Linked DNA regions of Homo sapiens: regions 2, 3, 4, 5 and 6 are each linked to region 1. Evidence: promoter capture Hi-C in 16 types of primary human blood cells and fetal thymus (Javierre and others, 2016). All regions are on one chromosome and are shown on one strand. Each heading gives the region's core, a stretch centred on a gene start or on the middle of the fragment in contact. The rest is flanking DNA. Distances are from core to core; before and after follow the strand shown. Region 1 holds the start of TMEM132B (transmembrane protein 132B). Region 2 has its middle 42 kb from the start of LINC02441. Region 3 has its middle 43 kb from the start of LINC02411. Region 4 has its middle 54 kb from the start of LINC02375. Region 5 has its middle 37 kb from the start of LINC02375. Region 6 holds the start of LOC124903050 (a long non-coding RNA gene).

Region 1 (3,680 bases), core at 354-2,853:
TGAGTGCTGCCTCTGCTAATGAGCTTGTCTGTACTAATCAAGCAGGTGCCCTGTCCCCCATCCCCTCTTGGCAGCCGGGAGTGGGGAGGATTGTCCTTCTGATGTGAGCTCTGGGCCCGCAGAGGAAAATCAGATCTATCATAATAATGGCCATGATGATGAGAATGATAATGTTGACACTGACTCCTTTAAATGAGTTCCGACTTCCTAGGTCAGGGGCTTTGTATGTGTTATTGGGGACACCAGGTGATGTGCAATGCCTTCCATCTCTCAGATGAGAAAACTGAGGCTCAGGGAGGAATAAGGGACTCGCCCCAGCTTGCACAGCTAAGGAGCGGCAGAGCTGGGATTCTCAGCCAAGACTCCATGACTCCAGAGCCTTCCCCAAATCTGTCTTTTCATCACCCCACGCTGCCTTATTGACCATTTTCAAAGAGTTTGACCCACTTTTTCATGGAAAACTGAGATGGCAGAGCAAGTGGCTGGTGTGGTGGGGGCTGGGGCGGAGCCAGGACTCCAAGCCACCCTCCCAGGTGGGCAACCCCCCATATCCCCTGTCCTCCCAGCGTGGTGGGGAAGCTTGAAGGCATCTGAGCGCTGCTGGAGGCTCCCCCACATGCTCCCAGCATGACTCATTCATTCGGCTTAGCCCCCCGTGGCTTTGCCCTGGTTGGGGGTGGGGCGCCCAGGAGGATCAGTGGTTTCTGGGATAATAGGTACTGGGGCTCCGTGTGACCTGTGACCTCCCTCCGCACTCTGGCTGCGTCCCTGCCCCTGGATGGAAGAATTCGACCACCTAGTACCCGGCCCTGCGCAACACCTCCGCTCCGTCACTGCCTGACCCTGCGCTGGGAACTCATTCCCGGGACCGCCAGGGAATCTGCCCTTCCCAGGAGAACTCCTGGCTGCCTCCGCGTGCTCCTAGGGCCTGCGCGAAATGGGAAGGCGCATCCTCTAGCCTGGGTAAATAAGGGACCCTGCCTCACCCGGGTGGCCATCCCCAGGCCGCCTTCGCTGTGTTTCAGGTCACCGCACCCAGCCTGCGCACCCCTAGCCCCCATCCCGGTGCCGTGCAGAGGCTCTGCACACAGCCTCGGCCTCCCGGAGGCCCTCCCCTCTCTCCTCTCCCCTCTCCCACAGGCACTCCCTAGCTGTGCCACATTTAACCCGGGACCTCCTGTCCGCGCTCAGTCTTGCAGTCTCTGGCCCCGGCAGACACCACCTCTCCAGAGGTCGCTGCCCCATCCCGGTGACCCTCCGCTGGCCTCCTCACCCCTCGACCTTGGCAACTCCTACCGCTGCGCCCCAAGACGCCGGATCTAGCTGGGCATCCCCTCTCTGCATTGCGCACCCCTCCCGCAGCCCCTGTACCCGCGAGCGCCCGCGACCCCCGGCGGGCTCCCGGAGCCTCCCGGCCGGGCGCCCTCCCCCGAACCGCCGAGCAGTGGCGCGTCCCGCCGCCTACTGGCCGGGCTGCCGCCTGTGCCCCGGCTCCCGGGCGGCCCCTCCCCCGGCCGCGGCCCCGCCCTCCGCTCCTCTCCTCCTCCTCCTCCTCCTACTCCTCCTCCTCCTCCTCCTCCCCCCGGCGCTCGCTCGCTCGCTCACTCTCTCGCTGGCTCGAGGGGCGGCCGGCAGATGGCGATGGCAGAGGCGGCGGCGGCGGCGGCGGCGCGACCGGGATGGGACGGGCGCTGGGGCGCAGGAGCCGCGGCGGCGGCGGCGGCGGGGGCCGCGCAACTCGGGCCAACTGCGGGGCAGCCGGCCAGGGCGCGGGGCGCTGAGCCTCGGCCGCCCCAGCTCCCCAGCCACGCACGGCCGAGCCCAGGAGAGCGCGCAGAGGCGCAGCCGAGGAAGCGCCGCCAGCGCCGGCGCATGCGTCTGGGGAGGAGCGGCGCGCTGGGAGCGAGCCATGCCCGGCGCCCGGGCGTAGCCGCCGGGGGCTGCTCCGGGAGCCGCGGGCCGGGCCGGGCGCGCGAGAGGAGCAGCCCCGCGCCGCACCCACCGCGCGCCGAGGACCATGCCGCCCCCGGGCCGGGCGCCGCCGCTCGGGCTCCTGCTGGCGCTGACTGCGCTCCAGTGCCCAGGTAACGCGTCCCCGGACCCCATCCCCGACCCCGGCCGAGGCGCACAAAGTTGGGTGAACGGGCGGCTACCTCCTTCTCAAGTCCCTGGCAGCGCGCATCTCCCGGACTTGGACAGACCTGGGGAGACCCTGGGAACCCAGGAGCCCCCGGCGCGTTCCCCTTTGCCTAGCGCCTGGGGAGAGCCCGCCTGCCTTCTCCCCCAAACCCTTAGCTTCCTTGCGGATCCTTTCGGGACGCACGGGGGCCACAGACCGGGGCACTCAGCCTCTCGAGGCGGGTGGGGACGCGACTGCAGGAATCGAGCCCCCTCCCCGCCCTGCCTTGGGCCAAATCCCCCCCAGGTCCCAGTTCCTCCAGGGGTTTTGCTGGGCGGGGGCGTCGACGCAGCCCTTCTCCAGTGTCTTGCTGCCCGCGGTCGCACAGTGGTGCGTTCCCGGGACACCTGCGGGCCCCGGAGATGTCTCGGCCGGCGCTGTCTGGCTTGTCCGCAGCCCCTCCCCACGCCCCGCGGCCCTCCCCTGCTTTCACACTGCCCTCCCCAAGCTACCCACCCTCGCCAAATGGCCTCCTCTTGGCCAAAGAGCAGCCCGCTGCGCGCCTCCTGCAAACGCGGTCTACTCCAGCGCCCTGACCCCAAGGCGGGCGGGAGAGGGTAGCCGCGGCCAAGCAGTCCAGGACGCGCCGGGGAGCCTGGAACGCGGTGCTGTCCAGAGCCATTGCCTGGGCACCGGGGAGCTGGACTCCCTGCTGAACCAGCTCAGCTGTCGCCCAATCCTAGTGAGTGGGAAAAGCAAAATAGTCAGGTATTGTCTGTCTTCGCTGGAGTTTGGAAAGCTTTCTACCCACCTTGGTGTGGCTACATGTTGGTTCTATAGAAAGCGTATCCTAAAATGACAATTCCTCCCCTCCCCCCACCCCATGCAAGCAGTGGAGAAAATCCTAAAGGCTCAGATGAACCCCGGGAACAGTCACGAGCAGCCTTCATGTGCTTTTGAAATCTCAGTTCTCCAAACCTTTTAAAATCAAGACCCATGATTTGGGAACAGGTAGCTTTTGCTTTAGAAAATCTCTCCCCATTTCCTTAACAAACAAATCGCACAGACAGGCAGAATGCAGTAGAAAAATACAACTATAACTTTTCGGCTTTCACTGTCTTGGTAAGGTTGCAGTTAGGAGCAAACCTGGCATGTCAACTTGATGTTCGATGTATTTTATTTGCATGGAAAAAGTCAGTGTCGGCTTCCTTTGAGATGCCCTTAAGTGACCCAAAATATTTACCAACACCTTCGACTTGAAGAAAACCTTCTATTGGAGATCTCCGTCAGCGTTCGGCTTTGGTTCAGCCTAGAGAATGGCATTGGGCTTAACGTGGATGAATCTTGCCTGCTTGGCTAAGGAGCAGCTATGATAGCTGTTTTGCTTTCGGCATTCCTCTGCGGTCCACGAGAGGGGCTGCTGCTGGGGCCGAGGCTGTTTTCTCTTAGCTGAAGCCCTGGGACCTGTTTGCAAAAGTGCAGTCCCTCGGACTTGAAAATTGCAGTTTTGTCTCTATTTTGTTTCTCCACGGGGGTCAGCATTTGCCTGGATGTGCTTATA
Region 2 (3,680 bases), core at 379-2,878, 2.9 Mb after region 1:
GAAGTGTGAGGAAATAAATTTCTGTTGCTTTGTCCACCGAGTCCGTTGTGTTTTGTTTAGCAGCCTGTGCAGACTAAGACAGCAATTCAGATTGTGGTCATTTGTTTTGGAAGCACAGGAAACTAATATAATCAGATTGTCAAAGTTTATGGAGAACCGTAGGCATTGTTATGATGTCTGAAGTGGAGATGGCATATTCAAATGTTGATTCATATCCAACACTCACTCACCTGGACACAGATTGGGAGGAGAAAAGTTTATTCTTCTCTGAGATTACAGGGAAAAGTGCCCTTTTTCTTCACGGGAAAACAAATTCCCAGAAGGTTTTTTTTTTTTTAGAAAATGTCTCCCTCTGTCACCCAGGCTGGAGTGCAGTGGCACCATCTGGGCTCACTGTAAACTCCACCTCCTAGGTTCAAGTGATCCTACCACTTCAGCCTCCCGAGTAGCTGGGATTACAGGCATGTGCCACCATGCCCAGCTAATTTTTGTATTTTTAGTAGAGACGGGGTTTCGCCATGTTGGCCAGGCTGGTCTCGAACTCCTGACCTCAAGTGATCCTCCCGCCTTGGCCTCCCAAAGTGCTGGGGTTACAGGCATAAGCCACCATGCCCAGCCTCCAGAAGTGTTTTCTTAATATATGTTTTCAGCACAGGTACAGCTTAATCCTCTTTTTTTGGCTCTTGACCTCATCAGTGGAGAGGAACCATAGGAGACAGGGAACAGGGTTCTCTCCAGCAATCCATGGAAATGAAGAGTGACTGAAGGCAAAGCTCTCTGCTAGCAGGGGGGTCGTCCTCCACCTTCTCAGAGCCCCAAACATGCAAGTAACAGCCTCTGCTCTTCCCGGATCTGCGGGGACCATCTTTAAATGACAGCTCTGGTGTGGAGTGACTGGATGTATGCTGGTGGGAGGGGTGTGGGAATATCCAAACTCAGAGGTAAGAAAAGGGAGAAAAAATCTCTCCTCTCATTGGAGCCAAAGCAGAAGGTGAAAAGGTGCATTGGCGAGACTGTAACATAAGGAAAGGAAGGAGGAAGAGAAGGAAGGAAGAAAGGAGCAAGGAGGCAGAGAAAGGAGGCAAGAAAGGGTGGAAATTTTATGGCTGATCTCTCAAGGGGATATTTTAGTCCCTTTGGCAGGGAACAAACATAAAATCAAAGAATAATTTTCTCCTGGGTATACTAATTATGTGAAATGCATCGTCTCTAAAGGCTGCACCGCTAAAATTAGAAATAGAGGCATCAACAGACTTGCCCTTACAAATAGAGTCATCAATAGACTTGGCCTAATAAAGCCCCACAAACTGGGGGTCTTGAAACCACAGAAGTTCCTTGCCTCACCATTCTGGCGGCTGGAAATCCAGTATCAAGGCCGTGGGGCCACATTCCCTCTGCAGGCAGGTGCTAGGGAAGGATATACTCCCTACCTCTCTACCAGCTTCCAGTGGTCACTTTGCTTGCGGCAGCAGAACTCCAGTTTCACAGGGCGCTCTTCCTGTGTGCATGCCGGTCTCTGTGAATAAATGTTCCCTTTTGGTAGAGATGCCAATCATACTGGATTAGGGCCCAGCCTAGTGACCTTATTTTAACTTGATCATCTGCTGCCTCAGTCCAGGCTGCTAGAATAAATGTCCTAGACCGGGTGGCTAAAACAACAAATGTTCATTTCTCACAGTTCTGGAAGCTGGAAGTCCAAGATCAAGGTGCTGGCTGATTCAGTTCCTGGTAAGAACTTACTAAGACTTCCTGATTTGCAGACAGATCCTTCTTTCCTATGTCCTCACGTGGTGGAGAGCTAGATCATGTCTCTCATATATCTTCTCATTAGGGCACTAACACCCGTCATGTCGGCTCCGCCCTCATGACCTGACCACCTTCCAAAGGCCCCACTTCCTACCACCATCACATTAGAAATGAGGAGCTTTAACATATAAATTTTAGGAGGTCACATTCAGCCCATAACACTGGCATAGACCCTGTTTCCAGGTAAAGTCACATTGACATGTACTGAGGGTTAATTCTTCAGCATCTTGTATGGAGTACAATTCAACCCATAATAAGTACTGAACTCTACAAGGTATATCTTTATTCTGTGATTTTTTTTTTGAGACACAGTCTTGCTCCGTCACCCAGGCTGGAGTGCAATCATGGCTCACTGAATCCTCGACCTCCCAGGCTCAAGTGATCCTCCTGTCCCAGCCTCCCGAGTGCTTAGGACCACAGGCCCCCACTACTACGCCCAGCTAATTTTTAATTACTTTGTTTTGTAGAGATGGGGGGTCTCACTATGTCACCCAGGCTGGTGTCAAATGGAAAAAAAATAATATATACTCTTAAACATATAGCTTTCTGATATTAAGTTCAATTACTTAAATAAATTATATTAAATAAAATGTTGAAAATTAACAGCACTCCGAAAACTCTAAGTGGAATAGAATGAGGACAGGATCGAGGGTCTGGTGGTTTTAAGTCCACAACCTAAGATTCGTGTGGCCTCCAGCAGCTCAGTCAACCTAGGAACCTTCCCTTCTTTGTTAACGAAATGGAAATAACACTATTTCGCAAAGCTGCTGTGAAGATTAAACGTGGATAACGTGCCTAAAAAGTCTATGATATGGTAAACCACAGTATAACATTCCTACAATTCATAATATTACTAATCACATATTCACACTATTGATATTCCTCATAAACTGGAACTAGTAATGCTGAGGTCGGCTAGTGGTTCGAGCTCTAAGATAAAGGCATTGACTGCCACCTGGTGGCAGCGTACTGTAGTGTCAATTCTTCAACTTTCTCGCCAAGGTAAATCACCTGGTGATGATTGCTTCGTCTCCAATTCCAAACAGAAAAAATGAGAATCCATCATCGTGTAACTCCACAATTGAACCTATTAAATGTAAGTTCCAGATGTTAAGGCTATATGCTTAAGATCAAAGAAGATTTGGAGAAGGGAGTTTACCTTATTCTTCCCTAAGCCATGAAATGTGGGTGATGAAATCTGGGATGGTTAACTTTAGCCTCAGTAAATTGTCTTCTCTCCCCTTTTGCTCACAGGGCCTGGTAACAGAGTGAGTGTTTAATTAATATGTGTTCGGCGAAATAATGAAGAATGTACTATTAATAATAACAATACCTTATTTTTATTGAGCACCTAGTATATACCAGACCATTTCAAAATGGATTACTCAGGATGTGCAGACTATCTCAGTGTTCACAGGGATTGGGGCATGCAGCAAAAAGGCCCTTGCTCAGAATATCTGTAGGAGTAGATAGGAGTAAAGATTCAGGACTTAGAAACAAATCTAGAAATGGGCTTACCACGTGCATTCGCTTTAGAGATGCTTATGGACTCCCCATTAAACAGAGACAGCTGGTAAACACAACAAGCAATTGGCAAATACATTTCAGGATCAAAGCTTATAATCCTTACGGGCCATTTACATTCTCAGGTGAATCTATGCTACAAGGTAAAGATGTGTCCCACCCACACTTTGGAAAGAGGTAGGTCTCAGAGCCCAGAAATGCCTTTAATATAGGGGTTGTGAGAGTTAATAAGGTGTGCGAGCTCATAAAGACCCTTATGTTCTTAGCAATATAACTTACAGTTCCTATTTCTTTTCTTTTTCTGTTTCTTTTTTCTTTTCTTTTTCTTTCTTTGTTTTTTGTTTCTCTGA
Region 3 (3,680 bases), core at 564-3,063, 2.5 Mb after region 1:
GAAGTCAAAGACCTACAATGAATATCTTTTTGCTGAATTAAGCAAGGTAAATTCCACTCGCAACTTTCTGTGACTCCAAGACTCTTCTTAGCTATTTCTGTGAACTCTGCTCATTTCTCTGTAATAGCTTTAATTCTTTGATCATATTGAAACGATTGCTGGCAATGCACTGTCACTGGAGAAGAGTAAATGAAGTCAGGATTATCAAAACCAGTAATTAGAGGCAAATTCATTTTTATGTGCTTGGCAAACCTTGCCATTTGATAGAATTAAGTATCTTGTCACATGTGAAATCAATAATTATAAATGATGGATTATTTGCAAGAAAGCAGAAAAAAAGTAGCTTCTAGGCCTGCTTCCAAAGTTAGAATAAATGTATAAATGAGTTAATATTGACCAATTATATATGAAGTCTGATAAATGTTTCAGCACTGCTGGAGGCAGAGAATTTATTAGACTAAGTAATGTAAAATATAATGAAATAGATTAAGTATTTTTTTAATGAAATAATGGTACCCATTAGATCTGATGACTCTAATCTTAATGCAAATTAGCCTGGTTATAGACATTCTTGCCCTGAATTGTAGATGGTGTGTTTAAATTCTCATGCTGAGAACCACCTCAAATCCCCAATTAAAAGAGCTACTAATTATGATAAACTAGACTTAGGAGAGTGGTTACGTCTGAGTGGAGAGGGACAGTTTGGGAAGTTTGGGAAGAGTATCCAGCTGGCTTCAATGGTATTTGTATTTTCTTCTTAAAATCAGCATTGATGTGTTAGTCTAGGTCTTTAGAGAACAGAAAGCAAGTTGGGATTAGACATGCAGGAGTTGTATTAGGAGAAACACTCTTGAGAGAAAATAGGCAGGGAGTCAGGGGAGATGGGAAGAGCCATCCAACCACAAAGCAGGTCCAGTTGTCTGGGAAGGAAAGAGGGGTGGCATGGTGGGCAGGAGAGTCTCAGACAGCTGTGGAGTTTGAAATATTTAGAAAAGTCAGCATGGAAGCCCCAAACCAAAGTCTCCGTCAAAGAAGGCCCAGTCTCTTGGGGTAGTGTGCCTTAGGGAGCCCGTGGGGCATCATGGCTGGGGTCACCCCTGGGAGGTGTGGTCTCAGCACAAACCTAGTGGTGAGGTCCAGAGGGCAGCAGCCTGGGTCACTGGTCCATTGTCGCACTCGGACATCCGAGTCTCCTCTCGCAGACACCACAACCCACCCTCTCCACCTTGCAGCCCTTTGCTTCCCATACATCTTGGGAGCATCTTCTCTGCAGTCCCCACAGGGCCTTCCTTCACGAGAGGAAGCTTAGAAGAGGGACATTTGTGGCAGGAATTATAGCCCCAATAACTGTAGTTGATCTCAGAGCTGCAACTGCATCCTCTCCCTCCTGCACAATCCATTCTGAATCCTGTCACTCTCAGCTATCTCTTGGGCAGGCCTTGGTGTCTCACTGCAGTCTGAGCAGAACCTTTAGGCTGGGGTTGCTGCCTTTGCCCACTCACTGTAACAGTGGGGTGGGGGAGCATCAGGAGGCATCCATGCAGGTCACACGAGCTCCACGTCCACGCCTTCCTGCCCCTGCATAAATGCAGCCCTATGTCACCTCCTGGTAGGTGTCACTAATCAGTAGACACTCTTGCCAATACAGGAGACCCTCTCCTTTCCTGCTGATCCCTGGTGAATTCAGTGGAGTTATAAAAGGGACCACCACAGCCCCCTTTAGACCTTTAATGAATCCATTTATTTTTGCTTTCTCCTGCTTCTCCAACATGAGATTTTTTTTTTAATTTGTTATCTTACCTAGGTAGGTAGTTTCAGAGGTTTCCACTGTGACTTCCTCACTATAAAAATTCTTACCACACAGGACACAGACCCAATATGGAGGTTCCTCCAAACACCAATTGTACCAAATTCAACTGATACTTGGGGACTTCAGAAGTGACCACTGAAGTACATCAAAACATTTTATGCCAAAATATATTTTTTGACATATTTAGAAACGGCCCTGCAAAGCCGTCTTTTGTGGGGGAAATTTGCCTCTGTAGAGAATCTTCAGTAACGCAGCCAGGCCTCCCTTTCCAGGCCTTTCCTGGATCTAACAGAGATTCTAAGAGAGAGTCTGACACCTTTAAAAGTCTGGAAAGAGGCAGCTGCCATCTATTCTGCCTGTGGGATGCTACCTGAGAGGCTTCATTCACATGATAAGGCCACCTTTGCCAGCCAAGACTCTTCCTTTCTCTCTCCTATGACCTGTCTTGCCACTAAAACGTGTTTTTGGCTGTGCTCTGAGCATGCATTCTCTCTGTAACCTCAGGATGGTGTATAAGCTTCTATACCTCACCAGCGGGTTAAGCCTTCATTCTGAAGACCACCGTGTATACATGTTAAATAAATATGCCTTTTCTCCTATTAATCAATCTGCCTCATGTCAGTCATTTCTCAACAGACCTTTAGGGGACCCAGGGCCTTGGCCCACACATCACTTAGTTGGGTCTACACATACAGTGAGCTGACTGTGAGCCAAACTTCATCCAGGGATCCATTTATTACCTGGCACCCACAGGAGCCCTTCTAAGAGGCGAGACACAAAGCATGATGTCTCAGTCGTGATGTCTCAGTCCTGCTTTCCATCACAGCATCTGCTTTTCACGGTGTTGCAAGGTCCTTTGTCTTCCTCTTAGGGTTGTGGCAAGCTCTTCCATCAGTGATGTCAGGACTTGAAAAACGGCTTAAGACTGGACATTGTGTAAGGGATTGTAACTTTTTATGGCGCAACATCCTCAAACTCCTGCTTGCTTCTTCTTGCCTTTTGTTTTTTCTTTTCTTTTCTTTTCTTTTCTTTTCTTTTTTCTCAGACAGAGTCTCACTCTGTAGCCAGGCTGGAGTGCAGTGGCGCAATCTCTGCTCACTGCAACCTCCGACTCCCTGGTTCAAGCAATTCTCCTGCCTCAGCCTCCCGATTGAGATTACAGGCATGTGCCACCATGCTCGGCTTATTTTTGTGTATTTTTAGTAGAGACGGGTTTTCACCATGTTGGCCAGGATGGTCTCGATCTCCTGACCTCATGTTCCACCTGCCTCGGCCTCCCAAAGTGCTGGAATTACAGGCATGAGCCACCACCCTGGGCCTGCCTTTTTAAAGATACAGATGTTAAGTAGCACCCTGGTTGCTGGCCCATCCATTTTGTTTTGAGAAAGGCCATTCTCTGCTATCCATCTCCACAATGCCTTTGGGTCAAACTCCCTCGAATGTCCCTGCACCCTTGCTGAGAGTTTTATGTTGATTGCAGCCTTCTGGCTTGTGGGTTTAAAGTGCAGCCACCTGTGTTACCTCAGGGCTTCCACATCCCTATGGATGTTGATGATCCTGCCCGGGTGATCAAAGAGCCTTCCTATGGTCAGCTCTGGCCTGCAAAGCAGAACTGCCACCGACCCTCTTAGAGACGCCAGTGCTGTCTCTCCATCACATTCCCATGCACATTGCAGCATAAGCCATCGCCTCGGTATCTCCTAGGGGCTTTCTCGAGAAACACGATTTTCTGCTGAGTCATCTGGACTTAGTATATTCATTCCAACACACTGATTTCCCTCAGCCTCTTTTTTCTTACCATCAGCAGTGTTTTTTCTAGGCTTCTAAAAATCTTCCCAGCAGTGAATTCGTCCCAGTATCTGGGACTCTT
Region 4 (3,680 bases), core at 340-2,839, 2.2 Mb after region 1:
TATCATAATTAGGGGCGCCTTGTGTATTAAAATATTAAGAATAGCCCTTGTCTTTTTCACTTATATGGAACCCACCAAGCTTCTTCTCTCCTCCCCCCAAAACACATACAGCATACAATATTAAGGGAGAGGAGGAGGAAAAAGGGAGTATAAATTATGAGGATATCTGGGGAAAGCAGGCTCAGTCTCCTTCAACATGCAAGCGTCCTGCAGTGAGCCTGGGTTGGAAGATGAGGACCTGTCATTTTCTCACTCAGGCTCAGCATCCAGGCACTTCTTAGGATGGGAGCCTCTTTCTACACTGAGTGTGCTCCTAGGCTATTCTGTAGCCTACTAATGGTGTCTATTGTGTAGGCAGCATGGTGCCCAGGCCTACACCAGCTCCACCTGGTATTCAACCCAAGGACTGTGCTCAACCTTGAGGAAGAGCTGGCTGTGTGGACTTACTGATGCTGAATTGGACAGATAAATGTGTCTGTCTTCTGCACCATGTTTTCCTGCATAGGTTTTCATGGATCATTTTGCTTCTAAGCTATCTGTACCCTATGAGCCAATATTAGAACACAGGATGCACACCACCACACCAAAATGCAACTCCACTGTAAAAAAGATAAAAGTATGGCTATTCTGTTGAATCTTAGGGAAGGAGACTTGTGTCTATGCCTTCTTGGCACTTCCTTTATTCCAATAGGGTCCCCCAGTGCATTTTCCTGCATTATATGGTCTTATGGAATTCAGTATGAAAACCATGGGCTGACCAATCTTAAACTAAACCTTGTATGCTAATATCTTCAAAGCCCTCTGATTTAGGTCATTATCCCATCTTCTCTACTTATGTAGTCTTCATCTTTCTTAATAACAGCTCTCAGGCCAGTCCAGCCCACCTCTTTGGTAAGCAGCCCCAAAGCACCCTTGACTTCACTTCACTTCCCAAATAAGCATCATAATTATAATATAATAATAATAATAATTATTATTATTATTTTTGAGACAGAGTCTTGCTCTGTCACCCAGCCTGGAGTGCAATGGCATGATCTCGGCTCGCGGGTTCAAGCAGTTCTCCTGCCTCAGCCTCCTGAGTAGCTGAGATTACAGGTGCCTGCCACCACGCCTGGCTAATGTTTGTATTTTTAGTAAAGATGGGGTTTCACCACCTTGGCCAGACTGGTCTCGAACTCCTGACCTCAGGTGATCCATCTGCCTCGGCCTCCCAATGAGCATCATGTTTAAGATAACTTGATCAATCTCTGACTTCCCCCAGTAGACAATAACTCCTTGAGGACTAGATTATGTGTGTATTGCTCCCTGCACCATCTGTAGTGGCTGGCATGGTGCCTGGCAAAGTGTAGGAATCCTCTAATCAGTGTTTGTTTAATTCATCGAGTATACTCAAAGATCTGACAGGATACTCTGTGACATTCTGGGGACGTAATTTGCATTCTGGGAGACAAGAAATGACTAGTTGATTGAGTCTTGAGCCATATCCTCACACCTAGCTGGTAAGTATATTTATATACACTTGGCTTCATGGAAAACGCATCTATCTCTCTTAATAAAACATTAGTTCCCAACTGGGAGCCATCTGAACCCCCAGGGAACATTGGACAATACTTGGAGACAAATTTGTTTATCACAAACTGGGTGATGCTTCTGGTATCTAGCAAGTAGAGGCCAGAGATGCTGCTCAACATCCCATAACACAGCACAGCCATCTCTCCAACACCCACGATAATGTTCTGGCCCAAAATGTGAGTCATGCCAACGCTAAGAAACTCTGCATAATGCAGTAAGCATTTTAAAGGCCAAGCCTGTTATTAACAGCTTAGTCACCCCAGGGGCTAGCACAGTCACTGGCATATTTATCTACAGGGTACTATTTATTTGTTGAGTACCTACTAAATGCCAGAAAATGGGAATTCAGAGGCAAACAAAACAGACAAGTCTCCCTTGCCTTTAATAGGTATTAATAAATAAAATCATGCCAAGTAAAATATAATTGCTATAATAAAAGTCCAACAGAGCAGTTTAATTTTTAGAGAGTTAAATAGAAAATTAAAACCACAATGAGATACCAACACACACTTATGCTTAAAATTAAAAAGTAACAAAATGCCAGTTGCAGTGGCTCACACTTATAATGCCAACATTTTAAGAGGCTGAGGCGAGAGGACCACTTGAGCTCAGGTGTTTGAGATCAGCCTGGACAACATAGCAAGACCTTATCTCCACAAAATAATAATAATAAAAAAAAAGCTGAGTGTGGCAGCACATCCTATAGTTCCAGCTACTTGGTGGGGCTGAGGTGGGAGGATCGCTGGAGTCTAGGATTTCAAGGCTGTAGTGAGTGGTGATCATGCCACTGCACTCTAGCTGGGGTGACCGAGTTAGACTGTTTCTCAAAAAAAAAAAAAAATTAATAATAATAATAATACCAAATGCTGGGGAGAATGCAAAGAAAGTAGATCCCTTATAGACCTGTACATGAATGATTAGAGTAGTCTTATTTGTAATAGTCCCAGACTAGAAACAAACCAATGTTCTTTACGGCTAAATATTTAAACAATCTGCACCAGAGAAGCTAAGAAACAAAAAGAAACACCCTATTGAGGCATGTACCATCCTGGATGGACCTCAAAGGAATTACAATGAATGGAAAAAAAAAAAAAAGACCATCTCAAAAGGTTTCATACTATCTGATTCTTCTTACATAACATTCTTAAAATGACACAAACATAGGGATGAAGAAAAAATTAGGGTTTGCCAAGGGTTAGGGAGGAAGCTGGGAGGGAGAGGAGTGGTTGTAGCTATGAAAGGAGAAAGAAAATGTTCTGAATCTTGAGTATGAGGGTGATTACATGAGTCTACACATGTGTACAATTGCATAGAATAAACTGCATAGAATAATCACCACGCACAAGTGCAGGTAAAAGTGGGGAATTCTAATAAGGTCCATGGATTGTGTCCATTTCAATGTCCTAGTTTAAGTGCTGTGCTATAGTTATGCAGTTGTGGCCACTGAGGGAAACTGGGTGAAGTTTGCACAGGATCTCTCTGTATTATTTCTTACAACCACCTGTGAACTGCAATTATCTTGAAATATAAAGCTTCAAAAGTTAAATACAAATTTAAATTTGATAGCCATTGTCTACTCTCTACTTCTATGAGTTTGACTTTTTTAGATTCCACAGGCAATAGTAATGTATAATTTAAAATAAGAGTAAATGTCAAAGCCTGACCACAAAAAAATGAGTAAATGAGTTGATGGATGTATTAATCAGCTTGATTTAATCATTTCACATTGTATACATATATCAAAACCTCACATTGTACCCCATAAATGTGTACAATGATTTGTCAATTTAAAATAATATCAATAAAAATAATAATATGACCATCAAATTTGAATTTAAAATAAAGATATAATATAAATAATATAAATTAAACTATAAAAGAATATTAGGTTGGTGCAAAAGTAATTTGCAATTACCTGTAATAGCAAAAACCGCAATTACTTTTGCACCCACAGAATATAAACTACAATAGGAGAGCATGAGAGGGTGTTCAGGGACTGTCTCTATAAGGAGGTGATATTTGAGCTGAGACCTGAAGGATGAGTGGAAGCCAGCCACATCCCCAGTAAGTGTTTACAGATCAAATGAGTAAATCTAACTTAAGAAAAA
Region 5 (3,680 bases), core at 565-3,064, 2.2 Mb after region 1:
TTGAAACTTTGTATGTAGCTACAGAGGATTTCCCAACATAGGCACTGTGGAATCAAACTCTAGCGATTGTGCAGGACTCTTCTGTACAATATTGAATTTTTAGTAGCATCACAGATCTTTACCCACTAGATGCCAGTAGCAGTATCGCCTACCAAATCATGACAATTAAAGATGTCTACAGATGGTGCTAAATTGTTACCTGTGTGGCAAAGTCACCCCAGATGAGGACAATAATAGTGAAAACATTATGATTGTCAGAGGGGTCAACACACAGGTCAACGAAGCAGAATAAAGACCCCAGAAATATAACCACATAACGATGGCAAACTAATTCTTTTGCATAGGTGCAAAAGCAATTCGATGGAGAAAAGATAGTCTTTTCAATAAATAAAGTTGAACAAGCAGATATCCACATGCAAAAACATAAATTAAATAAAATAAAAACCTCAATAAACAACTTAATTCTTAAACGTTGCACAAAATCTTCCTCAAAAGGGTTCACAGATCTATAAATAATATGAAGAATTATAAAGCTTTTAAGAGAAAATTTATTGCGGCCTGGGGTTATAATAAAGGGTTTTATTTCTTTGGCATAACACCAAATACATGATCCATAAAAGAAAAATTCAGTAAATTAGACTTTGTGAAAACTAAAATCTTTTGCTCTGCGGAAGAAACTATAAAGAAAATGAAAATACAAGCTATAGACTGAAATAACATATTTGTAAATTGCATATCCAACTAAGGCTTTAACATTTAAAATGTATAAACAATTCACAAAACTCAATAATAAGCAATCTAACAGCCTGATTAAAACATAGGCAAAAGACTTGAACATTTCACCAAAGAATACATTCACATAGCAAAAAAGCAAATGAAGCCGGGCGAGGTGGCTCACGCCTGTAATCCCAGCACTTTGGGAGGCCGAGGCGGGGGGGGGATCACGAGGTCAGGAGATCGAGACCATCCTGGCCAACAGGGTGAAACCCCGTCGCTACTAAAAATACAAAAAAAAATTAGCTGGGCGTGGTAGCAGGCGCCTGTAGTCCCAGCTACTCCAGAGGCTGAGGCGGGAGAATGGCGTGAACCTGAGAGGCGGAGCTTGCAGTGAGCCAAGATCACGCTACTGCATTCCAGCCGGGGGGAACATGCGAGACTGTCTCAAAAAAAAAAAAAAGCAAATGAAAAAATGTTCAACATCATTAGCTCTTAGGAAAATGCAAGTTAAAACCACAGTGATATACCCCTACATACCTATTAGAATTACACATTGCACATTGTCCAGTGCTGGTGATGATACGAAGCAACTGAATCTCTCAGGTATTGCTGGTGTGAACGCAAAATGATACAACTAGTCTGCAAAACATCTGACACTTTCTTATACAGTTAAACTCATCGCATGGCCCAACATGTGTACCCCATTAACTTAGCCCATATAAATAAAAAGGTATGTCCACAGAAGTGTGTACACAATTGTTCATAGCAACTTTGTTTGCAAGAACTTAAAACCCTAAACAATTCAAATGCCCTTCAGTGGCCAAGAGATGACTTGTGTGACATCTATAAATGGAATAGTATTGAGAAACACAATAACTTGGATAGATCTCAATGACCATTATGCTGAATGGGGAAAGATTCAAAATACACTTACGATATTATTTTATTGCTAGAACATTCTCAAAATGACAAATTATAGTGTGGAGGACCTATGAGGGGTTGTCAGGCATTAGGGTTATGTGGAAGGGATGACTATGAATTGCTGCCTCCCTGTATTTATATCTGATTGTGGTGACAGTTATGTGACACTGTGCATGCAGAAAAAATATAATAGAACTTTACACCAAACCAAACAAAACCCAACAAAACAAAGCCACAACACAGTGCACTGAAAAATTTATGACATTATAAAAAGTCTATAAGTTATCAATATCAATTTTCTGATCTTGAAAATTGTGCTGTGGTTATACAAAATCTTATCATTGGGATAAGCCAGTTAAAGGGTACAGGGGACCCCTCTATCCTGTTCGTGTAACTAAATACAGTCTAAGTTATTTCAAAATAAAAAGTTAAAAATAAATGAATAGATACAAATTTAGACACAATTTAGTCTCACGAAGAAATTTTTCTTAATTGTCTATCCAAGAGAAAATAAAAAACATCAGCACAACTTCTTGTACACTAATATTTATAGAAGTATTAATTAGAAGAGGCAAAAAATAGGAAAATAATGCCCATCAACTGATGAACTGATAAGCATATATGATATTTACACACATTAGCATAGACAGCAAGAAACAGCATTGAGTTCTTATGCATGCTACAACATGGGTGAACCTCAAAAATATTACATTAGGTGAAAGAAACTAGATACAAAATACCACATATTGCAAGATTCCATTTATATAAAAGACCCAGAGAAGACAAGTCTGTAGAGACAGAAATGAGATTCATGGGGCAAAATGAGCAAGGAAGACAAACAGGCATACAAGATTTTCTGGGGATGATGGAGATTTCCTGGAACTGGATGGTGGTGACGGTTGCACAGCCCTGTACCCTTAGTAAAAATCATTTAATCGTACATGTAAAGAGGTGAATTTTATGGTGTATGGATTACGACAATAAGGTGCTTTAAAAAATATTAATAGAAAAGCAAATGCATGTGAGATTAGTGGACATGCACTGCAGAGCCTAACTCCTGCCTGGTGCCCAGGAGGTGTTCACCAAGCGGCACCTGTTTTACGTGGCTTCAAAGCCACATTTAGTATTAAAAAATTGGTATAAAAGAAGACTGGACTCTTCTCCATAAAGTACTGGACACAACTGAAGCTCCTCTCCTCTGCTGAGAGGGTGGGACCTTATAGCCATCACTGGCCAAAGAGGACATTTTCCAGAGTCCAAGGTGGTTCTGGGGAAAGTGAGAAATGTCTCCCCCAAGGTCCACAGTGACCCCTCTCTCGGTCTTTTCTAAATGCTCTTGCTTCTTATCTGTCTCAGGAAAGAGCCCAGCAGCTTTTCCAACTGAGTCTAAATGCATAAAGGCATGATTACTCCACCCCAGGAGCTCAGAGTTTATACTTGGTATTTACTCACGGTGTTTAAGCTTGGTATTTAATCATGGAATAGAATTCTTCCTCCTTCGTGAAAGGAATTTTACAAAAAAAAAAAAAAAAAAAATAGGAGAACTCTGTTCCTTGGCAGAAAACCTTGCTGACATCCCTGATGGCAAGAACTGGGCCTCCCTCATCCAATGCCAGCTTTCAGCCCAGTGTCAGCACACAGGCCCTCGGTGAAGGTGTGTGTAAAGAATGACTGCCATCAATACCTTAACTCTCAGCAGCATTTCACAGTTTGAAAGAACGTGAGGAACACTACGGACTAATCACTGCATCTCATCTGTCCTCTAGATCACATTGAAATGAGAATAAATGAACAGAAAGTTGTGATCTCGCAACAACATAGGGCTATCAGCAGATAAAAGATGCCAATCATCTCTGAGGATGGAAAGAATCAGATGGCCTGTTAGTGACCAACGGAACGAGAAAGAGAAGCCTAGCATAGTTCCCCAGCAGAGAAACAACGATAGCAGAAGGGGGGAATTAGGATCTATAAGAGGTTACCCATGTCACAAACTCGGCCACGAAAAAAATGACAAAACTAACGAATATCTAACAGGAGAAGTG
Region 6 (3,680 bases), core at 441-2,940, 2.1 Mb after region 1:
ATTTCCCCTCCTCTCTGCTTTTATCTACCATACCTGCTTCGGGTGGTCCCTGGGACATGAGATTTTCCAGACCTCCCTTTTTTAGGGGCTCCCCTCTCCTGCTTCTGTCTGGATACCTGCCGCCTCTAACACTGTGATCTTTGCAGAGACGTCAGGATGTCTTGGTGACTGACAGATCTGATAGGATTTCAGCTCATTCCTTCTCTGAGTGAATGTGGGCAAGCAGAAAATCTGCCTCTCGAAATCCCGGTTCCCTCCACTTCTAAACATGCAGATAATGAAAAAGCCTGTTTCACGCGATTGAGATGAAGATTAAAATGTTGATAATTCTACTGAATTGGCACGTGTGTTTGCACATGTGCATATCTGTACACACACAGAGAGAAATTCATGGGTCAGACTCTGCTCCCAAGGAGAAACGTGCAATTTCCACAGAAAATCTTTGCATGGCAAATAATCCTGAACTACATTCTATTATTTGCTCACATTTAAATCTGGCTGTTTACCCAATTATCCATGTCTGATATTGGGCTATAGCTCTGAGCCAAAGAAGACTGTTTTCAACCACTTTGATTTTCACCCAGCAGTAACAAGCGGCATGCTGTGGTGGGCTGGATTCTAAGTTGCCCTCAAGAATGACACAAGCTTAAACCACAGGTAGCAAAGGGAATTTCTTCTTTCCCTGAGACCTAATTCATTACCCTATATCATTGCAACTTGATTAGTATTTACCCAATAGAATGAAAGTGTGTTGATTTCTGAATCACTAAAAGCTGATGTCATTAAATTAGGCATGATACTTAAAACATTAAATTCATTATCATCTAGCGTCTTATATTTATAAAGTATAACTAAGGATATATTTGCATGTGTAAAGAATCTGTCACTATTAGTTCTCTATGCCAGGAAAGGCAGCTGTCTTATTATTTCTGAGCCTGAACATTAAGACAGTAGGGCAAGGGGAAGAGAGGAAAGAATAAATGGAACATTTCTGCCTGCTTAATGCCAGAGAAATATATAAAGTGGTGAATACATGGGTAGCCTAACAAGGAAGAAACACACATCCATCACTTGGGATGCATTTTTAATCTTGGAGTGGCTTTAAGAAGTTCACCCTCTCTGCTGCCAATTCAGGCAATAGATTAAAGGTCACTTTAAAATGCCTCAACGTTAACGGCAATCATTGCAGAAATGCCAAATATCATTATCTGACTGCAAAATTACCTAGCTGGAATTGCTACATTATTTCTCTAGATAATGCCCTCCAAATGTTTTTGATTGTTTATACCTGACAATAAAGAACTACTTCTGTATGCATCTGTGATATGGAGGCCATTACACCAGCTTGCCAAATATTTTCAGATTTCCCTCTTCTTGGGCACACAGTAGAAACATAATTCTAGGTCTTGTCTTTGAGCGAAGCCATTAGCTAGTTCTGGCCAATGAGTGTGGGCAAACATGGCATGTGCTGTCAGGAAGGGGGACCCACAGTGGGCAGGCAACACTCACAACTGCATTTATCACAGCTGCTCCTTACAGCATGGTCCAAGCCATCACTATCAGACCCTCACTCAGAGCTCTTGACCTCATCACCACCAGCTCCCCTGGTGCTAACTCTGGGACAGTCATCATTTAAGGCATTGGGTGCATGCTGTCCTTATTGCTCTACCCCAAATAGGTCAGGCACACTCCTTGATTAGGGCCTTTACTTTTGCTGCTATCTCAACCTGGGATATTCCTTTCCCCCAGGACCCAAGCCCTCCAAGCTCATTTCTTTTAGGTTCAAGCTCAAACATCAGCTTATCCATGAGACCCATGCTTATATTGTCTTTTCAAATAACAGTTGCCACTAATAGGTACTCGCTATGCACCTTCTGTGTTATTTTCCCCATAATACTTTAACCTACCTGACCAGCTATATTCTCCTTCATTGGTTCTTTGCATTCTTGTCCCCTTCCCCCTCGCCCCACACACCTGCCCCATCCCACACATACACATAATATTATATAAGCTCCTTGGGAGCAGGAACTGTGCGTGCTATTTTAACATCATATTCCCAATGTCTAAAACAATGACTGTCCCAGAGTTGGCACTCAAAAACGTTTGTTAATGAGCTTAATACAATATGTTACGTTAGGGTTTTTGTTAAATAAGTACAATGCAGCTGCTCTCGTCACAGAAAAACTAACTGTGAGATAAGAGATATGTTCACAGACTTCACTCTAGAAACCATTTTACTCTCTGTATATATCCCACAGCATCATGTTGCAAACCTGTAAACCTCAAATGTACCCAATAAAATTTATTTAAAAATATTTGTTTAGAGGAAGAATGAGTAAATACAACACTTACCGAACTCATATGCAGATAGGACTATCTGGCCTCCCTTTCTCTGCCCAAATATGTATCTGAAGATGACCCAGAAGCAATGTTCTACACCTTCATGTGAATTTCTGTTGCTTTACTCACATCATCTCCTCTAAGAGGCAAGTGGAGTTGGTCAATGTCAAAGAAATTGCATCCTTCATGAGATTCTAGGAGTCTGAGGCATAAGAAACAGCTTCCTAAAAGCATTTTGGAAAAAATAAGGCTTTTGTTATTGTTGTTGTTGCTGTTATTGTTTTTTATTTCTTTTTCCTCTGGCCACCTTGTGTGGTCCTGTCTGCAGATTATAACAATAAACACTGGCATTGTTAATGTCAGCTGAGGGGTCCACACTCCAACGTGGGAGCAAAACAAGCTTCCATTTGTGAGCCATGCCCATTTTGGCCCAAACAGTCATGTATTATAGCAGCAATCTCACCAGATTGTGGATAGTTTGAAGTTGCAAAAAGCTTAAAGCCACTTTTATATAATTTGCCAATTTTCTCCCATTTTATTTCCTCTATTTTCTGATGAGAAATCAATCTTCTCTAAAGAAAACAAATACATTATGTTTTACTATGAAGTCAAGGTCTTAGGTTATTCTCTCAACTTGAGGTATTTGTTGTTTGGATTTTTTTAAAAAAACAGAGTACATTTATTTCTTAATCAAGGGTTGACATAAGCACAAGGTCTGCGTGTTTGGAAGATGCTGGGCCTGTTTACCCTCTTTTATCAGTCGGGGTGGAACTCATACCTCACCCCCTACCCCCACCACCACCTACCACCTTCTGGCGCCCAGTTCAGCTCAGAGGGTCCCTCCATAATTGGGGTCGTTTGGAGTGAGAATAATGGATATAATCACCAGCAGGGGTTTCTCATCTGGATACTGGTCTTGATCTATAACAGTAATACAGCTTCAGTCAACTTCCAAGCTGGCTGCACTGCTGTGTGGCTTTACACCAGTGGCTTCACCTCTTTGAACTTCCATTGCCTCCTTTACAAATGGCCATGATAAAACCAGCTTGTAGGTCATTGTCACAATAACCTATAAAGTTTGCAAATCACTGATGCCTGGCACAATGACTGGTAGGTAGAGGTGGTTGAGAACCAATAACTGGAACGTATGGGGATCATATGGGTAGCAGTCCATCAGTATGTGTTTTCTCTGTGCAGATCTTATCCTGAGCTCATGAACTACTGTGGGACCATTTACCATTCAGAATAGAAAGAGAACTGAGCCAGGAGTCTGGGCACATGGATTCTCATCTCCAGTCCATCCTCCTGTGTGCCAGGTGCATTTAGGTGCCGGGGACACA

Evidence for each region. The method cuts DNA at HindIII sites, captures the fragments that hold promoters and counts their contacts. A CHiCAGO score of 5 or more calls a contact.
Region 2: a fragment that was not itself captured here is called in contact with the fragment with the promoter of TMEM132B in region 1 in 3 of 17 cell types (endothelial precursors, non-activated CD4 T cells and total CD4 T cells); the score reaches 10.4 in endothelial precursors.
Region 3: a contact is called between a fragment that was not itself captured here and the fragment with the promoter of TMEM132B in region 1, in 1 of 17 cell types (endothelial precursors). The highest score is 6.1, in endothelial precursors.
Region 4: a contact is called between a fragment that was not itself captured here and the fragment with the promoter of TMEM132B in region 1, in 1 of 17 cell types (endothelial precursors). The highest score is 7.2, in endothelial precursors.
Region 5: a contact is called between a fragment that was not itself captured here and the fragment with the promoter of TMEM132B in region 1, in 1 of 17 cell types (endothelial precursors). The highest score is 9.2, in endothelial precursors.
Region 6: a contact is called between a fragment that was not itself captured here and the fragment with the promoter of TMEM132B in region 1, in 1 of 17 cell types (endothelial precursors). The highest score is 5.5, in endothelial precursors.

Annotation. Positions count from the first base shown.
Region 1 is chr12:125,184,783-125,188,462 of GRCh38, forward strand. TMEM132B (transmembrane protein 132B) reads left to right here and starts at 1,604. Exons shown (of 9, transcript NM_001366854.1): 1 at 1,604-2,084. The coding sequence starts at 2,018. RefSeq lists an enhancer at 805-1,338 and a silencer at 1,387-1,596. The HindIII fragment of the contact is 2,339 bases long and covers 578-2,916 here.
Region 2 is chr12:128,066,847-128,070,526 of GRCh38, forward strand. No RefSeq gene overlaps it. Among named protein-coding and RNA genes, the nearest start is that of LINC02441, 42 kb to the left of the region's middle. The HindIII fragment of the contact is 3,583 bases long and covers 1-3,420 here.
Region 3 is chr12:127,678,009-127,681,688 of GRCh38, forward strand. No RefSeq gene overlaps it. Among named protein-coding and RNA genes, the nearest start is that of LINC02411, 43 kb to the left of the region's middle. The HindIII fragment of the contact is 1,023 bases long and covers 1,303-2,325 here.
Region 4 is chr12:127,392,333-127,396,012 of GRCh38, forward strand. No RefSeq gene overlaps it. Among named protein-coding and RNA genes, the nearest start is that of LINC02375, 54 kb to the left of the region's middle. The HindIII fragment of the contact is 3,025 bases long and covers 78-3,102 here.
Region 5 is chr12:127,375,722-127,379,401 of GRCh38, forward strand. No RefSeq gene overlaps it. Among named protein-coding and RNA genes, the nearest start is that of LINC02375, 37 kb to the left of the region's middle. The HindIII fragment of the contact is 2,567 bases long and covers 532-3,098 here.
Region 6 is chr12:127,301,158-127,304,837 of GRCh38, forward strand. It overlaps LOC124903050 (a long non-coding RNA gene), which reads right to left and starts at 2,633. Exons shown (of 3, transcript XR_007063523.1): 1 at 2,353-2,633. The HindIII fragment of the contact is 2,095 bases long and covers 644-2,738 here.